Linked DNA regions of Homo sapiens: all the other regions are linked to region 4. Evidence: promoter capture Hi-C in human tissues and cell types (Jung and others, 2019). All regions are on one chromosome and are shown on one strand. The core of a region is centred on a gene start or on the middle of the fragment in contact, and the rest is flanking DNA. Distances in the headings are between cores, read along the strand shown. Region 1 overlaps CILK1 (ciliogenesis associated kinase 1). Region 2 overlaps FBXO9 (F-box protein 9). Region 3 overlaps GSTA4 (glutathione S-transferase alpha 4). Region 4 holds the start of GSTA5 (glutathione S-transferase alpha 5).

Region 1 (4,107 bases), core at 921-3,420, 170 kb before region 4:
TTTCCCGCCTCCCTGCTTCCCCTTACCTCCCCCCATGCCAGCCTGATCGAGTGTTTATTTAGGTTTGTATAAACTTCATAGTGTGGTTTTGCAGGTTTTAAAATTTATGTGAAGATAATCTTGGATCACTGCTTCATGCATTTTAATAAATATATGTGTAGCAATTATAGAGATATATATCATATATTATATAACATATACAATATATATCTATACAACACCATAACTTATTATTTATGTGGACCATAATTTATGTATGCCTTCTCTTCTTGATAAATACATAAGTTGATTGCAATTTTTGCTATTAGAAAGAGTGCTGAGATGATTATTGTACCCCTATTGTTATGCACATGTGTGAGGATTCCTCTGGGTACGAGAACTAGGAGTCAACATTTTATTTTATTTTATTTTATTTTATTTATTTATTTTTATTTATTTATTTATTTTAAGACGCAGTCTTGCTCTGTTGCCCAGGCTGGAGTGCAGTGGCATGATCTCGGCTCACTGCAACCTCTGCCTCCCTGGTTCAAGCAATTCTCCTGCCTCAGCCTCCCAAGTAGCTAGGATTACAGGCATGTGCCACCACACCCAGCTAATTTTTTTTTTTTTTTGTATTTTTAGTAGAAACAGGGTTTCACCATGTTGGCCAGGCTGGTCTCGAACTCCTGACCTCAGGTGATCCACCCGCCTGGGTCTCCCATTGTGCTGGGATTACAAGTGTGAGCCACCATGCCCAGCCAGAGTCAACATTTTAGGTTAAAGGGTGTGCTCATCTTCAACTTCACAGATATTGCCAAACTACTTGCTCTCCAGCGGGATATGGGAGTTGCTCTGCATCCTTGATGCCACTTGGTACTGTCAAGACTAAAATTTGTGCTAATCTGATGAGTGAGAAATGGTATCCTATTGTGGTTTAAACTTGCATGTCCTATTTACTAATGAGGTTCATCATCTTTTCTTGTGTTTATTGACTATAAGTTTTTTCTCTTTTGTGACTTACCTGTTCAAATTCTCTTCCCATTTTTCTTCATGTTTCTTCATTCACCAAAGTACAAAATACACCCCAGCTGACCAACGCAACTCCTCACGCAGGCATTCTAGACTGTGTTTCCACTCTGCCTTAAACAATTGCTGAAAAAGCTCTGTGTTGTGAAAACAGAGCAACTCTACTACTTACTGACTTTTCTTAATGGTTAGAATTTCCATTTCTATAACGGGCAATAATAACAGTCTTCATTATTCCATGTGTACCTTTAAGCCTAAATAATAAGAATTATATTCATTCACCCATCCAAAATTAATTGATTATCTGCTATATGCAAGGCATTCTGTTATCCTCCCCAGAATACCAAGACGAGTAGCATACAGTCCCTGCCCTTAAAGCACTCCCAAGTGGAAATGACATAAAAAGTTAAGGTATTTCACATTGTAAAAAATGGTTAATTTTTCTGATGTGGATAAGAATATTTAGTGTGTAATTACTTGTCACAGCTAAATAATTTAATATAACCTGTGTGTTGATCAATAAGAAAATGGTTAAATGGATTATGGTTTAGCCATACTCTAGAATTTATATGTACTCACATGGAAGGATAACTATTCTATATTATGGAGTGAAAAAAGCAAATTTTAGAATAGTCTAAATCTACTTTTACAAAAGAAAATAAAGAACAAATGTCATATTTCCCTTTTTTAAAAAAATTTCACAACCAACCCACCCTCTATTTGGTTGCCCCTCACAGGAGCAGCACTGTCTTTGGCCCCCGCAGTCTTTCTGACAGGGTAGTATGGTGGGATGCTTGGCTCTGAACTCATTTTTATCATGATTTGCTCTTTTCCCTAAAAGTAAAAACTTAGTTTGTTATTGCTCTGCAGTGCTGTCATTTAACCTTGTTGGTGTCCTGGGTACATGTCTTTGTAATAATGAGCTTTTTGCTTTTGCAAATCAGTTGGTTCCAGCTCTACAAGTTCTAGTGGACTGACTGGAAACTATGTCCCTTCCTTTCTGAAAAAAGAAATCGGTTCTGCTATGCAGAGGGTACACCTAGCACCTATTCCAGACCCTTCCCCTGGTGAGTTGTATTTTAAATTATTCATGAATTTACTCAACAAATGGTTACTCAACAACTGCTTTGTGCCAGGCATGTTTTAGGCCTGGGATCCACCAATAAATGAAACTTGCACTCTACAGACAATAAGTAAGCTAAATAAGTGCTATATAACATATAGTAAGTCAGATGCTTACTGACTTAGTGCTAAGGAGAAAAATACAGCAGACAGGAGGTAGGGATTGTGGGGGTTGGAGTGTGGGGTACAGGTTACAATTTTAGATAGAGTAGCTAAAGAAGAGCTCACTGCAAAGGAGTTGTTGAGTAGAGACCTGGAGGAGGTGATTGAGCAAGCATACAGTATGAGTGAGGCTTTTCCAGACAGGAGATTGTTCTGTGCTTGAGCTTTCAGGCAGAACTGGCCTGGCAAATTCAAGGAGCAGCAAGGAGGCCAGAGTGTGGGAGTGACAGGAGTGAGAGGGGGAGTAGCAAGATGAGGTCAGGGGTGATACGATGCCTGTAAGCACATTGTCATGGATTCTGAGTGACGTGGAGTCCCTGGAGGGCTTTGAGTCCATAAGTGAGGTGATCTGACAGCCATCTCCACAGGCTCCCTCAAGCTGCTGTTGTCATGAGACTGAAGTAGGGGCAAGGTAGGAAGCAGGGAATCCAATTAGGAGGATGTTGAAATTATCCAGGTAAGAAATGATGCTAGCTTGGGCCAGCGTGGTAGTAGTTCAGTTGGTAAAAAGTTGCCAGGTTCTGTAAATATTTGGAAGGTAGAACTAATAGGATATCCTGACAAATTATATGTGGTATATGAAAAAAAGAGGGGTCAAGAATGATGCCATTATTTTTGGCCTGACAACTTTAAAACGATGTCTTTAACTGCAGTAGAGAAGATTATAAGTAGGAGACAAGATGCTCCTCTTGAACTCCTTATTTTCTCATGTTTTTGTCACCAAAATGCATTTATTTGTACTTTGCTTACATTGGCCCCATATCAGTCATGCCGGCCTTTTTCTTTCATTGCAGGTTATTCCTCCCTGAAGGCCATGAGACCTCATCCTGGGCGACCATTCTTCCACACCCAGCCTAGAAGCACTCCTGGGTTGATACCACGGCCTCCAGCCGCCCAGCCAGTGCATGGCCGGACAGACTGGGCTTCCAAGTACGCATCTCGGCGATGACTGTCTGCCTTGGTGATGAATCTCTTCCTAGGGAGAAGCAGGATACTTTCCCTCAGCTGACTGGTGTTCTACCTGCAAGATGTGCAGAGGGCATAAAAGCAAATCAACACTTTATAGTTATTCTTCTGAACTAAGACATGTCAATATTCTTTTTTAAAGTTTTTTTTTAAAATATTGATTTGAATGCAGTAGGCTTTTTTGTATAAAATTATTTTATTCTAAAACTGGGTCCCATTATTTTCTTAAACAACAGCATTTTGTATATATGGATTATGTTTTAGCATTTTATACAGTCAACTTTGTAATGAACTTTTTAAAAATTAATTGATTTTCCTTTGGGGTTCCAGATAATATTTTCTACAGATTTTGAAAAATGTAATAATATTAATGCAGTATTGCAACAGGGGTGCAATTTAAGGCTATGTGATAGAGGGTTATTTACTCAGTGTGTGCAGATATTTATGAAGTGGTGAAATTTCAAGTGTGGCTCACTAGGTACTTCAGGCCTTCTTGGACTGTTGTTAGAAAAGTGATCCTCTGCTTTTCTTAGTAGGTCATTGGTTTGATTTTTGGATACCACTCTGCTGTTCTAAAAGGACTATTATATTATATAATTCACTTTGTTTTACTTTTGTTCCCCAGATGAAAGAACTCTAAGTAAATACATTTTAAAAAATTTTTCTGACACCCTTTAATGTGGTTGCAGATCTCAGATGAAACCAAGCTTAATTATACTATGCCATTATATTCTAATTTATTCCATTTTTGAAATCAAGTTGTATGTGTACCAATAAAAGAGATTTCTGCTTCAAAAGGCTCTCAACATGAAGGTTAACACAGTCAATCAAACTTACATTCCTGCCAAGATG
Region 2 (4,239 bases), core at 1,591-4,090, 230 kb before region 4:
TTCTTCTACTGCTTTTAGGAAGAGTTCTCGAGCCTATAAAAATATAAAGTAAAAATTTTTGAAAACCTGCATTAAAAATTAGTATGGATGGCAGAAGGAGAGCCTTTTTAATAAATTGTGCAAAATAACTGGATATTCATAGGCAAATTAATGAACCTTGACCTAAACCTCATACTTTACATAAAAATTAACTTGACTGGATCATGGACTTAAATGTAAAATCCATAAACCTTTTAGAAGAAAAGAAAACAAAGAAAATCTTGGAGACCTAGGACTAGGCAAAGAGTTCTTGACACCAAAAGCACCATTCACAAAAGGAAAAACTGATAAACTGGACCTTGTCAAAATTAAAAATTTTTGCTCTGTGAAATGCCCTGTTAAGAGGATGAAAATATTTACAAGCCACATATTCAATAAAAGACTTGCATCTAGAATAAAGAACTTCCAAAACACAACATCAAAAATATTAGCATCTGGCTGGGCGCGGTGGCTCACGCCTGTAATCCCAGCACTTTGGGAGGCTGAGGTCGGCAGATCACCTGAGGCCAGGAGTTCGACACTGGCCTGGCCAACAAGATGAAACCCCATCTGTACTAAAAATACAAAAATTAGCCGGTTGTGGTGGCACACGTCTACAGTCTCAGCTACTCTGGAGGCTGAGGCAGGAGAATCAGTTGAACCTGGGAGGCAGAGCTTGCTGTGAGCTGAGATCGTGCCACAGCACTCCAGCCTGGGGTGACACAGTGACACTCCATCTCAAAAAAAAAAAAAAAAAAAAAAATAATTATATATATATATGTAATCCAATTAGAAAAGACATCAACAGATATTTCAGAGAGAGAATATATATTAATAGATGAAAAATAAGCACATGAAAAGATGTTCAACATCACAAGCCATTAGAGAAATGCAAATTAAAATGACAATGAGATACCACTACATACCTATCAGAATGGCTATTAATAAAATTAAAGGCCAGGTGCAGTGGCTCACTCCTGTAATCCCAGCACTTTGGGAGGCTGAAGCAGGTAGACTGCTTGAGGTCAGGAGTTCGAGACAAGCCTGACCAACATGGTGAAACCCCAGGCTCCCAAAGTGCTGGGATTACAGAAGTGAGCCACCGCACCCAGCTAGATTGCTAATATTTTTAATATTGTGTTTTGGAAGTTCTTTTTGCATTCTAGATACAAAATACAAATTTGTAAAAATACAAAAATTAGCCCAGCGTTACTGACGGGGCCTGTAATCCCAGCTATTTGGGAGGCCAAGGCACGAGAATCGCTTGAACCCGGGAGGCAGAGGTTGCAGTGAGCTGGAATCACACCACTGCACTCCAGCCTGGGCGACAAAGTGAGACTCTGTCTTAAAATAAATAAATAAATTAATTAAATTAAATTAAAAAGTAGCAACACTAAATGCTGATGAGGATGAACTGGATCACTCATACATTGCTGGTGGGAACTTAATATAAGATACTCTAGAAAACACTTTGGCAGTTTCTTTTAAAATCAAACATGTACTTACTATAGAACTTAGCAATTGTACTCTTGGGGTTTCATCCCAGAGAAGTGAAAATTATGTTCATGAGAAAACCTACACACATATTTCCATAGCTCCATTCATAACAGCCAAATATTGGAAACAACTCAAATGTCCTTCAACCAATAAATGGTTAAACTGGGGTACATCCATACCATGCAATACTATTCTGCAATAAAAAGGAACAAACTACTGATACATAGTAACTTGGACTGATCTTGAGGGAATTATACTTAGTGAAAAAAGCCAATCTCAAAAGGTTACATACTGGATGATTCCACTTATACAACATTCTTGGAATATCAAAATTACAAAATGGAGAACAGACTAGTGGTTGCCAGTGGTTACGAATGGCTAGGGAAAGGGAGTATATAACTATAAAACAGTTCTGTATCTTGATTGTGGTGGTGGTTACATGAAGCTACCTTGTAATAAAACTGCAAACAACTATTTATACACATACACACAGACAAGTGCTTGTAAACTCAGGAAATCCAAGTAAACTGTGGATTGTTCCAATGTCTATTTCCTCGTTTTTGATATTGTACTATAGTTATGCAAGTTGTTACCATCGGAGGAGGTTAAAGGGCACACAGGACTTCCCTATACCTGTGGACCTGTAATTATTTCAAAATAAAAATTAAGAGGAGATAGAAGGTAAGTCATCATGGTAATGCCAATTATTTGATGACTAATTATAAACACAAACTTGGATCTGATGGTAAAAAGATGGCAGCCTCTATGGAAGAAGAATAAGAAATGAAATGGTATGCTGTGCCTACTCTGTGTGAGTAAGTACCAGAAGAGATATGAATGTTAGACAGCATTCAAAATATTTTCAGTGTGAAAATATTTCAAAATTTTCCAGAATAAGGAAATGATTAATGCATTATTGTAAGCTGATCAATTCAAAATATAACAAAATACTGCATGAAATTAAGACCTCTGGAAAGACATTAACATGTGAGCAATCTTTTTGGTTCTATTAATAAATTTAGAAAATTCTGTTTTTTCTTTTTGGTTCTGTTAATAAATTCAGAGACACCAATCTTTTAGGAACCACATGAATCCCAGAGGTCTATAAATTAACAAAAGACAGCTCAATGAAGACAGTGTACCCACAGAGAAAAAAGCCATGCAGGAGTAGTGGTACCATCCAAAGTACCTAGAAGAAATTGTGAGAAATATATAAACTAGTATACTAGTCAAAATTTTTATTTTACAAGATATGTGTTTATGTCCCGAAAGTCTGGTTATAATGCCTACTTACTGTGTCAGTGAAAATTTCCATGTGCCAAAAAAAAAAAAATGTAATTTGTTACAATATCTATAATACTTAACTTTTCTTCTTTTGCCTGTTCTTGTTTTCCTTTGGTATCTGCCGATGTTTTCTGGAGAGAGCCTCTTGCTGCTCTGCAAGGTCGATTTTCTAAATTGCTAGAGCTTACACCTGGAGCAAGTTCAAACATCCACTGAGCTCGGAACATCTGGAGTTGTGCCTATGGGGAGAACAGCATTTTAGGACTCATCAAGGAAGGGTAGCTCAACTCTGGAACAATGTATCAATATGTCCAACATCTATCTACTTCCACGTATATACTTATTACTCTAAGTCCAGAAATCACTGTCTTCTGAATTATTAAATATCCATTAAATACATCTTTTAAAATAATTTTCTGCTCAAAACTTAAAGAATCAAGAAAATTAGCATAAAATACATGTCAGTACACCAAAAGTCAAATTATATTGGAAAACCAAATTTTAATTAGAATTGAAAATATAAGCCATCACTTACAGACTGAAGTTATAAGCTTCCAATAATTTTTTAATGACTATATCATCTAGTAGACATTAAGAATGCTGCCAAAAATTCTGTAGGTAAGCCCAAAATCTATTAACATTCTGTATTTCAAAAAGAAAATGTTTTTTCAAATATTTGTTATTTCAAAAATGTAAAGGCCAGGCACAGAGGCTCATGCCTATAATCCCAGCACTTTGGGAGGCCGAGGCAGACGGATCACCTGAGGTCAGGAGTTCGAGAACAGCCCGGCCAACATGGTGAAACCCTGTCTCTACTAAAAATACAAACAAATTAGCCAGGTGTGGTGGCGGGCACCTGTAATCCCAGCTACTTGGGAGGCTGAGCCATGAGAATTGCTTGAACTCGGGTGGCAGAGGTTGGCAGTCAGCAGAGATCGTGCTACTGCACTCCAGCCTGGGCAATGGAGCGAGACTCCATCTCAAAAAAAAAAAAAATTAAAAGCACATAAAAAGTGAACCCTATAAGGTAGACTCTGGTGTGTTGCCCAGATTCCCTTTCAGAAATAAAGAACTTGTTACCCAAACTGCTGAGAGTTCTATCTGAAAACACTTGAGTTGTCAGCCCTTTTGGGTATTGCCTCAGCAAAATCACACTGTCCTCTCAATCCCCACCCAATGACTGATCAACGGCTAATAAAGTCTTGGCTCTTTGCAACTCAGGTCATCTCTGAAAGGGTATTTCATCTTCAGAACTCCCTCGAGGATGGCTAAGCAGTCCATTAAGACTGCATTGCAGCTGGTCTTCTCCCTGCCCATTTGTTTCCCTCTCTCCCTTCCATAGGTGTTGATCCCAAGAATACTCCTTAATAAACTTCCTGCACAGCAATCTTCACCTAGTCTGCTTCCTGGGGAACCCAAACTGGGTTACACGTTCTGCCC
Region 3 (3,996 bases), core at 245-2,744, 140 kb before region 4:
CTGTCCAAGGATTTTAAAACTGAGCCCAGTTGAACTAACCTAAGCGCTAATGGACTCCTAAGAGCGAATAGTAGCCACAGCACAAAGCTGGTGTCTTAGAGCCCCTTGGACTCTGCTAGGACCACATGATTCAGAAGTCTAGAAAAAGTATGGGCTCCCTGCCTTTGTTCCTTATTGTTCCTTGCATTCACCAAGTTCCCACCTTGTGTGGATACAGCAGAAACTTCAGAAGATACAGAAAACAAAAACTACCTCATTCATTCATTCAACAAAAGTTGTCGAACAGCTGTCTCAGCTGACATCCTCCCTGATAATTCGATATGAGTAGAAGAACCATTTCCATTTTATTTATCTTCCCTTTGCTCTTTTTGTTTTTGGTTTTGTTGTTTTTCTCTTCTTGTTATATCTGCTTTTCTGAGCTTCAAATTCTTTATTCCTGAACTGGGAGGAACTTTTTTAGTGTTTCAATGCAAACACTAAAGAAGAGGGTGTGAAAATATGGGAAGACCTATTTGGCAAGCTTCCTCTGACCATCTTTATGGAACTAGATTTAGGAAAAAGGAGAGGTATTTTCTGGGGTTTCTGTAGCTAGGTTTTATGGTATCTTTCCCACAGGCACTTTGTGAATGTAAAATAGGATAATGAAGAAATGTGGTCTGGAACGGGCACAGAGGACCTGGTGCTTTGGCAAAGGTTCACTGCTCATTCTTAGGTCCCAAGGGCCCAGACTGTGTCAGGGTTTCTTGCAACACGCCTATGAGGTGAGAACCGTTGTCCCTTTTACACATAATGAAATGAAGTCATGAAGAGATTCAGTGACCTGTCCAAGGTAACATGGCCAGAAAATGGAGAGCAGGGTTGGAACTCTGGCCTCTGACTACAAATTCAGGATGCATTGTACTATGCCACTCTGGCTCCAGTAGCTATATTTGACCTGGAATTGTGTTCGGAGTCCCTGTGACACACACACTTGTGCACATGCAGACACCCATGGGCATCCAAGAGTTGACTGTGAAGGGGATCTCCCCTTTGCTACTACTGCTTCTTGCCTCTCCCTAATCACAATCTATTCTTATAAGCCCCACACCTATACGTTACCCTCAGAATGGGAGTCAAGATGAACTCAAGCTTTTCATTTTCTCTGTTTTGGGACATGTAAGAGGAAGTCTAATTTTATAATTGGGTTGAGTTTATGACTACACCTCTTGATGTTCTAGCAGCAGAACTGGGAAATAAGAGTGGGCCCCTTGAAGATGATCTATCACTTAGATTTCTTAAATCACCCTGCCCCTCCCCAAGCCTCCTGCATGCATTTCTGTAGATACATTTTTGGAGTAGATATATCCTTTCAAAACACCAGATGCTAAATCCAGAAATAAGGAATTTTCCCTTCCCCACTTCAATGTCTCATTCAGATCCACAGCAGATATTTAAGGATGCTTTCATTTCCACACCTTTTTTGTACTTTCTCTCTCTCTCTCTCGCTCTCTCTCTCTCTCTCTCCCCCTCTCTCTCACTCTCTCTGTCAGATATAGGGTGCGTTCTCTTAATTGATGTTATTTATGAAAGCATGAAATGACAAGGTCATAGTTTCACCTCTTCTCAGATACTGCACTGATTCAATAGCCTCATCACTCTCTCCATGTGGAATATTGTAACTGATGCACACCATTTCCCTACAGATTTTAAGGGGTCACGGACAAAGCTTTCTTGTTGGTAATCAGCTGAGCCTTGCAGATGTGATTTTACTCCAAACCATTTTAGCTCTAGAAGAGAAAATTCCTAATATCCTGTCTGCATTTCCTTTCCTCCAGGTAAATAAAACTATGTATTAGAAGATTGGCCTAGAACTCTTGGGCCTTCCTTCAGTGTCTATTGTTTGGTTGGCTTTGGGGAGTGTGTGTGTGTGTGTATGTGTAATATTTTTAAGATTCTAGTTTGGCAAATGAAATGAAAGTAAGGACCCAAAGTTATTTTTCTGGTCCTTAAATCCTTCAAGTTGAAAGATCATTGAAGTGTAAAATTTTTTTTTTTTAAGGTGGGATCTTACTATGTTGCCCAGAATGGTCTTGAACTCCTGGGCTCAAGAGATCCTCCCACCTCAGTCTCCTGAGTAGCAGGGACTATAGGCATGTGCCAGCACACCCAGCTCAGAAATTTTCATCTTAATTTTGTTCCATAACTGCACTCCTGGAAAAAACTCCATGCACAGGGAGTTTGCCTCAGGGGACTTTCCATAGAAATAACCATAGAGATGAGGTGGTCTCACACTCACATGTATCTACTGATGGAATAGTGGGCGAGATAAACATCAAAACAGTCTCATTCATCAGGCTATGACTCCCTTTCTCAGAAATAGTATGGTCTCAAGTTAGGAAATTCTAAGCCTGAGCTCTGAGAGCAAATGAGAGATGTTAGCACCCTAAACATCACCCCAAAGGATTCCTACCATTCTCCTTCTGAGAATTCCAAGGAAAGACTTGTGTGGTTCAAATTATCCCTCAGGGTTATTCTGGCAGGATTGATCATAGAACTTTAAAGGAGAGAAGGGCCTTTAAAAAAAAACTCATTTAATGACTTCAATATTCACTTGAGGAAGTAGAGACCCAGAATAAAGAAATCAGCAGCCAAGCTGGCTTAGGCAGTGGATGCTTGAGTTTTATCTAGAACCTTAGCCTTTTATCTCCAAGTCTAATGTGCAGACTGTAACTCCTGGGCCAAACCTGGCCTGCCACCTGTTTTTATACAGCTTGTGAGTTAAGAATAATTTTTACATTTTTAAATGGTTGAAAAAAATCTGTGGAATAATATTTCATGACACATAAAAATTATATGAAATTCAAATTCTAGTATTCATAAATTTCATTGGTACAAAGCCATGCCCACTCATTTACACAATGTCAAGGTTACTTTTGTTTTTCTACAGCAGAGTTGAGTAGATCTGATAGAGACCATATGGCCTGCAGAACTTAAAATATTTGCTGACTGGTCCTTTATGGAAAAAGCTTGCCAATCCCTGAAACAGCCTGGATACAGACCAAATTGCTATATGTTTGACCAAGTTATCAAAAGCCAAGAGAGATACACTAACTCTCCAAAGAGTAACACACATACTTAAAACAATTTTTTGCCAAGTCTATTAAATATTTTGATATACTAATGAGAGCAATTACCACCAGTTCAATAAGTACACCCAGAAAATGAGAATAAAAATCTTCAACAAGGCAATAAACCACCATATCATTTATGTTATAGTTTATATTTTTTTTTCAATTTTTTTTTCATTTACTTTTGCAGACACAGAGATTGACTTTCCTTAATTTGATTTTATTCATTCAGAACTTAGGATACTTTTCACCTGAAGTATTCTTTTGCACTGTTAAAAAAGTTACTTGTTTAGCAGAGAAGGGAAATTAGAGGAAGGGATCTGCAACTTGTTGAGTGCCAGCTTCATTCCAGTCAGTCTGCTAGGCACTTACATGCATTTGCTCATCTGTCCCGTCAACCCCACCCCAATAACCCTAGGAGATGGGCTTCACTATCTCCATTTTACAGATGAAAATTACCAGCTTGGAAACATTACATTCTGCATAGTTGCAAGACTGTGGATGACTGAGTTGGGAGCCACAGGGGAGTCAGGGATCTAAGTCTGTACTCTTTCCACTAGACTGTGTGGTTTCTGAGAAACACATTTAGAAGTACTAGAAGTACCTTTGGCCCCAAATAGGTGGGATGCTGAACCCAGAAGTAGGTAGAATGCTAAGCTTATTAAAGGTGAAATCTAGGCCGGGCGCAGTGGCTCACACCTGTAATCCCAGCACTTTGGGTGGCTGAAGTGGGTGGATCACTTAAGGTCAGGAGTTCAAGACCAGTCTGGCCAACATGGTGAAACCCCATCTCTACTAAAAATAAAACAATTAGCTGAGCATGGTGGCATGTGCCTGTAATCCCAGCTACTCGGAGGCTGAGGCAGGAGAATCACTTGAACTGGGGAGG
Region 4 (3,927 bases), core at 242-2,741:
TGGAGAGAATATGCAACTGTTCCTAAGTCCTGGCACTGGAACTCCTGCTTTCAATGAGTCCTGTGTCCTTCCATTCACATTCATGATACAATTAGTTGCATCTGTCCTTGCAGCCATTGGTTTTCATTCTCTGATACTCTGCTATGTTCCACCTCCCAAACAGCCTGGGATAGAGCAAGGGCTATCAAACTTCACTGATGAGCCCAGTCAATTTCTCTCTAACCATTTACAACAAGCAGGTGAGCGTGCACACATGCAAACATCCATACACACAATATACAAATAACTGAAACTAACAACTCATGAAACATTACTTACCCTTCAACATGTCATGCTCACTGATATTTTTATTCTTTTCTATTTTATTTTAAAAAGTACTGGGGTTTCACAATCTACTGAAAGATTACCATGCATATTTGAGAAACATTAACATAGAAAATAAGACTCAGTCTTTAGTTTTTAATAGCAGTGAGTCTGCATCCCAGATCCACCACTTAATCTGGGTAAGTTACTTTAAAAACCTCAGTATCCTCAACTGTAAAATGAGAATAGCAACAGCCTTTCACCTTAGGTGATTTTTGTAGGACAAAATGAGAGAAGTTTAGAAGAATGGCCAGTGTATGACTGACGTTGAACAAATGCTAGCTCCTTCCATATCCTGCAAAGTTAATGCAGCAACATCTCTTTTGCCAGGTTATAAAACAAAATGCCCCCCACAGAGTTAAAATATAGAACACCAAAAGAAGCAAGGTATTAGCATTCTCTGTTGAAAGACTTTGGATCTTCTAGCTACAGTAAAACAAGTCTGAAGCCTAATTTCTGGTTTTGATCAAATGCAGTCTCACAGCCAGAGAGCTGAAGAGTGACTTAGCTCCCTGCCGGTCCTCCCTGTCAGTGACATCCTCTGGTTTCACAACCAGTTCATGGGTTCCCAGGGCCTTCACCCAGATGTCTTCCAGGCGTGACTTCATTTTAGTCCTTGGTGTAGATATTCATGTCCATCACCAACCAGAGTGTGACTGTGAACATTGTATTTCTCTGATGTTCGATTTCATTAACTAAAAATTGGAGAAAACAACCATTTAATGAGACTATAAGGAGGGTTAAAGATATAAAATATTGAAAGGGACTAGCATTGAGGAAGGATCATGAGGAAGTTTTCAATAAATATTAGTTCTTGAATTCTTCCCCTTCCATTAACTCCTGTACATGTATTATTACCACATACTCTCACCTCTTAGGCTGCCAAGAAAAGTCACAGGTAAACAATGAAGACTTGAGACTGGTTTGAGGGTGGCCACTGCTGGGTAACAATTTGAGCCAAGAAAACATTCCAGGAACTCCTTCAACCCAGTCATGAAGAAGGCAGGTTCTTCTTCAGCATTGTTTGTGGTTTTCAACCACACATCCTAAAGTACATTTTTGATTCTATCGTTTCAATTATTCATTCATTCATTCAGGCTTAGAGAAACCTCCAGGAGACTGCTATCATGGCAGAGAAGCCCAAGCTCCACTACTCCAATGCACGGGGCAGTATGGAGTCCATTCGGTGGCTCCTGGCTGCAGCTGGAGTAGAGGTAGGTTCTGAGTAAGGTCATCTTAAGTTGGATTTAAAATTGCGTTATCACATACTTTTCCCACAGAAACTATGCAATGATTACTTACTGAAGCATTGTGCCTTAAATAAAAATGGACTGTAATTAAGAAAAAGATGAATAGATTTGACCTAAAAATTGTTAAAATTTCTTCTTATCTAAGAGCATACATATTAAAATACAATTAAGAAACTAATCAAAAAGTGTAGAACTTAAGTGGATTAGAATTTAAACAAACTGTAAAAAATAATTTATGGCATTAGAAACTTGGATATTGACTGAATATTTGATGACATGAAATAATTATTGTTAATATTTCATGTGTGATAATGTACTATGGTTATCTTTAGAACAGTTTATGTGTTTTAGGAAAACACATTGAAGTATTTAAGGATTAATCATATGGATCTGGGATTTCTTTGGAATTATTACAAAAGGAGAAGTAGGTGGGCATAAATATAACTTCACATTGGTTTTGGTTGATAATTATTGATTCTAGGTGAGAAATATAAGGAGAATTTTTATGCTTTTCTGTTTATTTTTATTCATGTTCATAATTTCCACAACAAAAAAATGAAAATACGTAATATTTAAAAATGGCTGTAGTTAGAGGTAAAATGCAAACTATAAATGAGAGGTGTAAGGGAGTGGATTGTAACAAACTACCTATTAAAGATTGACTACATTCACAGCAATTATTTGTTGAGCACTTATTAATTCCAGGTTCTGTACTAGGTCATGGAGATAGACAGTGAACAAGACAGACACAGTCCCTGCCCTGGGGCGGCCTACATGTCTATGAGGATGCAGACAAGTAAACACGTGGTTAAAATGAGGCGTGGAGGCTTCTAGAACACCCAAGCATTCCCCAGTGTTACCAGGTCATCCTCCCAGTGTTTGAGTAGGAAATGCCTGGAGGTGTCTGTGGGACTCCGCTGAGTGCTGCCCTCTAGAGGTGTCACTGAGAAAAACACTTCCCAGTCCAGACCAGAGTCCTTCAGCGACTGCCTGAGGGTTTTCCTGGGAAGTGAGTCATGGACAAACTCAGGAGATCTTGTCCCTCGGGTGGCAGCAGAAAAGGGGGGTTTCAGGTGAGGTGGCGTCCTGTGAAGGGAACTTCTAGCGCGCCCCTTCAGCCTCACAGCGCCGTGTGGACCTGAGCCTCGGAACGGTACTTTGTGCGTTGCTTCACGAAGGCTTGGGACTTTAGCCTCACCCTTTCTCAGTTCTATGAAGAAATAAGCACATAAGAAATCCAAACACTATCATTCTAGGTTGTTTCCTTTGTACAAATGAATACCCTGTTTCACTGTCACGCAGACATCAGCTCTGCAGCTCAGGGATGTGTTCAGAGCCCGGGTAGGAAGAGTTCAGCAGGAGGGAGGGAGGGGCAAGGCTGGGAGGAACCCAGGTTCCCAGGTCTCCATCCAGCCTGACTGAAGGCGGGGGCAGGGCTGACTGCAGACCTTGCTCAGGCTTCTGGGGTCTCAGCGCCCTAAGGCTGATGATCACAACCCAGTCCTCACATCCCACTTGCCAACCCCACCCCACCTTGTCTACCCTCCTTCCTGGACCACCCACCGTTCCTTAGGTTTGTCCTGAACTGGATGCCTTATTAATTGCTGGCACACACCCCCATGACCTCTAGATCCTGGTCCTGTGTGATCATAGATCCACAACAAATTCTGTTCCATGGAGCAAGCCAGAAACCCCCAAATTCCTGATCTTTCACCATAAAGAACTCCATTAAAGTATAATTAGCCACTGGAAACACCGCTACTATTTATTACTTGATGTATGTGGGTCAGGCCCTGTATCATGCATTTTGAAACATTACAAAATTCCATTTAAGAAAATATTATATTCCCATTTTGCAGATTAAGAATCTAAGGCTTGAAGATTTTAAGCAATAATTCCTAGATCACACAGCTATTTTGAGGCAGAGTCAAGATTGGAACCAGATCATAACAACATTGAAATCCAGAAAACCTTGATAACTTTTGCTTAGACTTTTGGTTTGATAGATTCTGCCTATTTAAGTCAACTGCATCATTATGTAATAACTGAATTTCATATCTGTATTAAATACCTGCAACCACTCATAGCTTCTGGTCAGATTGAGACAGCCTTGTTGCTGGCTGCTATTTCCACCAAAGTGACTTGTCTCAGGATGAGGTGGAATTTACTCCAATGTTTAAGTTACTGGATGTAGATCAAGAACTAAGTATAGTTTCAAAATTCTAAACATAACTTATATTTAACGAGCAGTTACTATACACCTGCTACTTTTCTAAGTGCTTTGCATGACCTTGTAATTTAATCTTGATATCAG

Evidence for each region. The method cuts DNA at HindIII sites, captures the fragments that hold promoters and counts their contacts. A contact is called where the count stands out against the background at its distance.
Region 1: a fragment that was not itself captured here is called in contact with the fragment with the promoter of GSTA5 in region 4 in 3 of the 25 tissues and cell types used here (lymphoblastoid cells, mesenchymal stem cells and thymus).
Region 2: a fragment that was not itself captured here is called in contact with the fragment with the promoter of GSTA5 in region 4 in 1 of the 25 tissues and cell types used here (mesenchymal stem cells).
Region 3: a fragment that was not itself captured here is called in contact with the fragment with the promoter of GSTA5 in region 4 in 1 of the 25 tissues and cell types used here (mesendoderm cells).

What each region holds. Positions count from the first base shown.
Region 1 is chr6:53,004,280-53,008,386 of GRCh38, reverse strand. It overlaps CILK1 (ciliogenesis associated kinase 1), which reads left to right. Exons shown (of 14, transcript NM_014920.5): 13 at 1,950-2,072; 14 at 3,084-4,107. The coding sequence ends at 3,238. Among named protein-coding and RNA genes, the nearest start is that of RN7SK, 11 kb to the right of the region's middle. The HindIII fragment of the contact is 6,922 bases long and covers 1-4,107 here.
Region 2 is chr6:53,072,280-53,076,518 of GRCh38, reverse strand. FBXO9 (F-box protein 9) reads right to left here. Exons shown (of 13, transcript NM_033480.3): 3 at 2,880-3,038; 4 at 1-33. Among named protein-coding and RNA genes, the nearest start is that of FBXO9, 9.0 kb to the right of the region's middle. The HindIII fragment of the contact is 5,649 bases long and covers 16-4,239 here.
Region 3 is chr6:52,980,392-52,984,387 of GRCh38, reverse strand. GSTA4 (glutathione S-transferase alpha 4) reads left to right here. Exons shown (of 7, transcript NM_001512.4): 6 at 1,683-1,814. Among named protein-coding and RNA genes, the nearest start is that of GSTA4, 13 kb to the left of the region's middle. The HindIII fragment of the contact is 3,782 bases long and covers 1-3,385 here.
Region 4 is chr6:52,838,377-52,842,303 of GRCh38, reverse strand. GSTA5 (glutathione S-transferase alpha 5) reads left to right here and starts at 1,491. Exons shown (of 6, transcript NM_153699.3): 1 at 1,491-1,577. The coding sequence starts at 1,491. The HindIII fragment of the contact is 18,057 bases long and covers 1-3,927 here.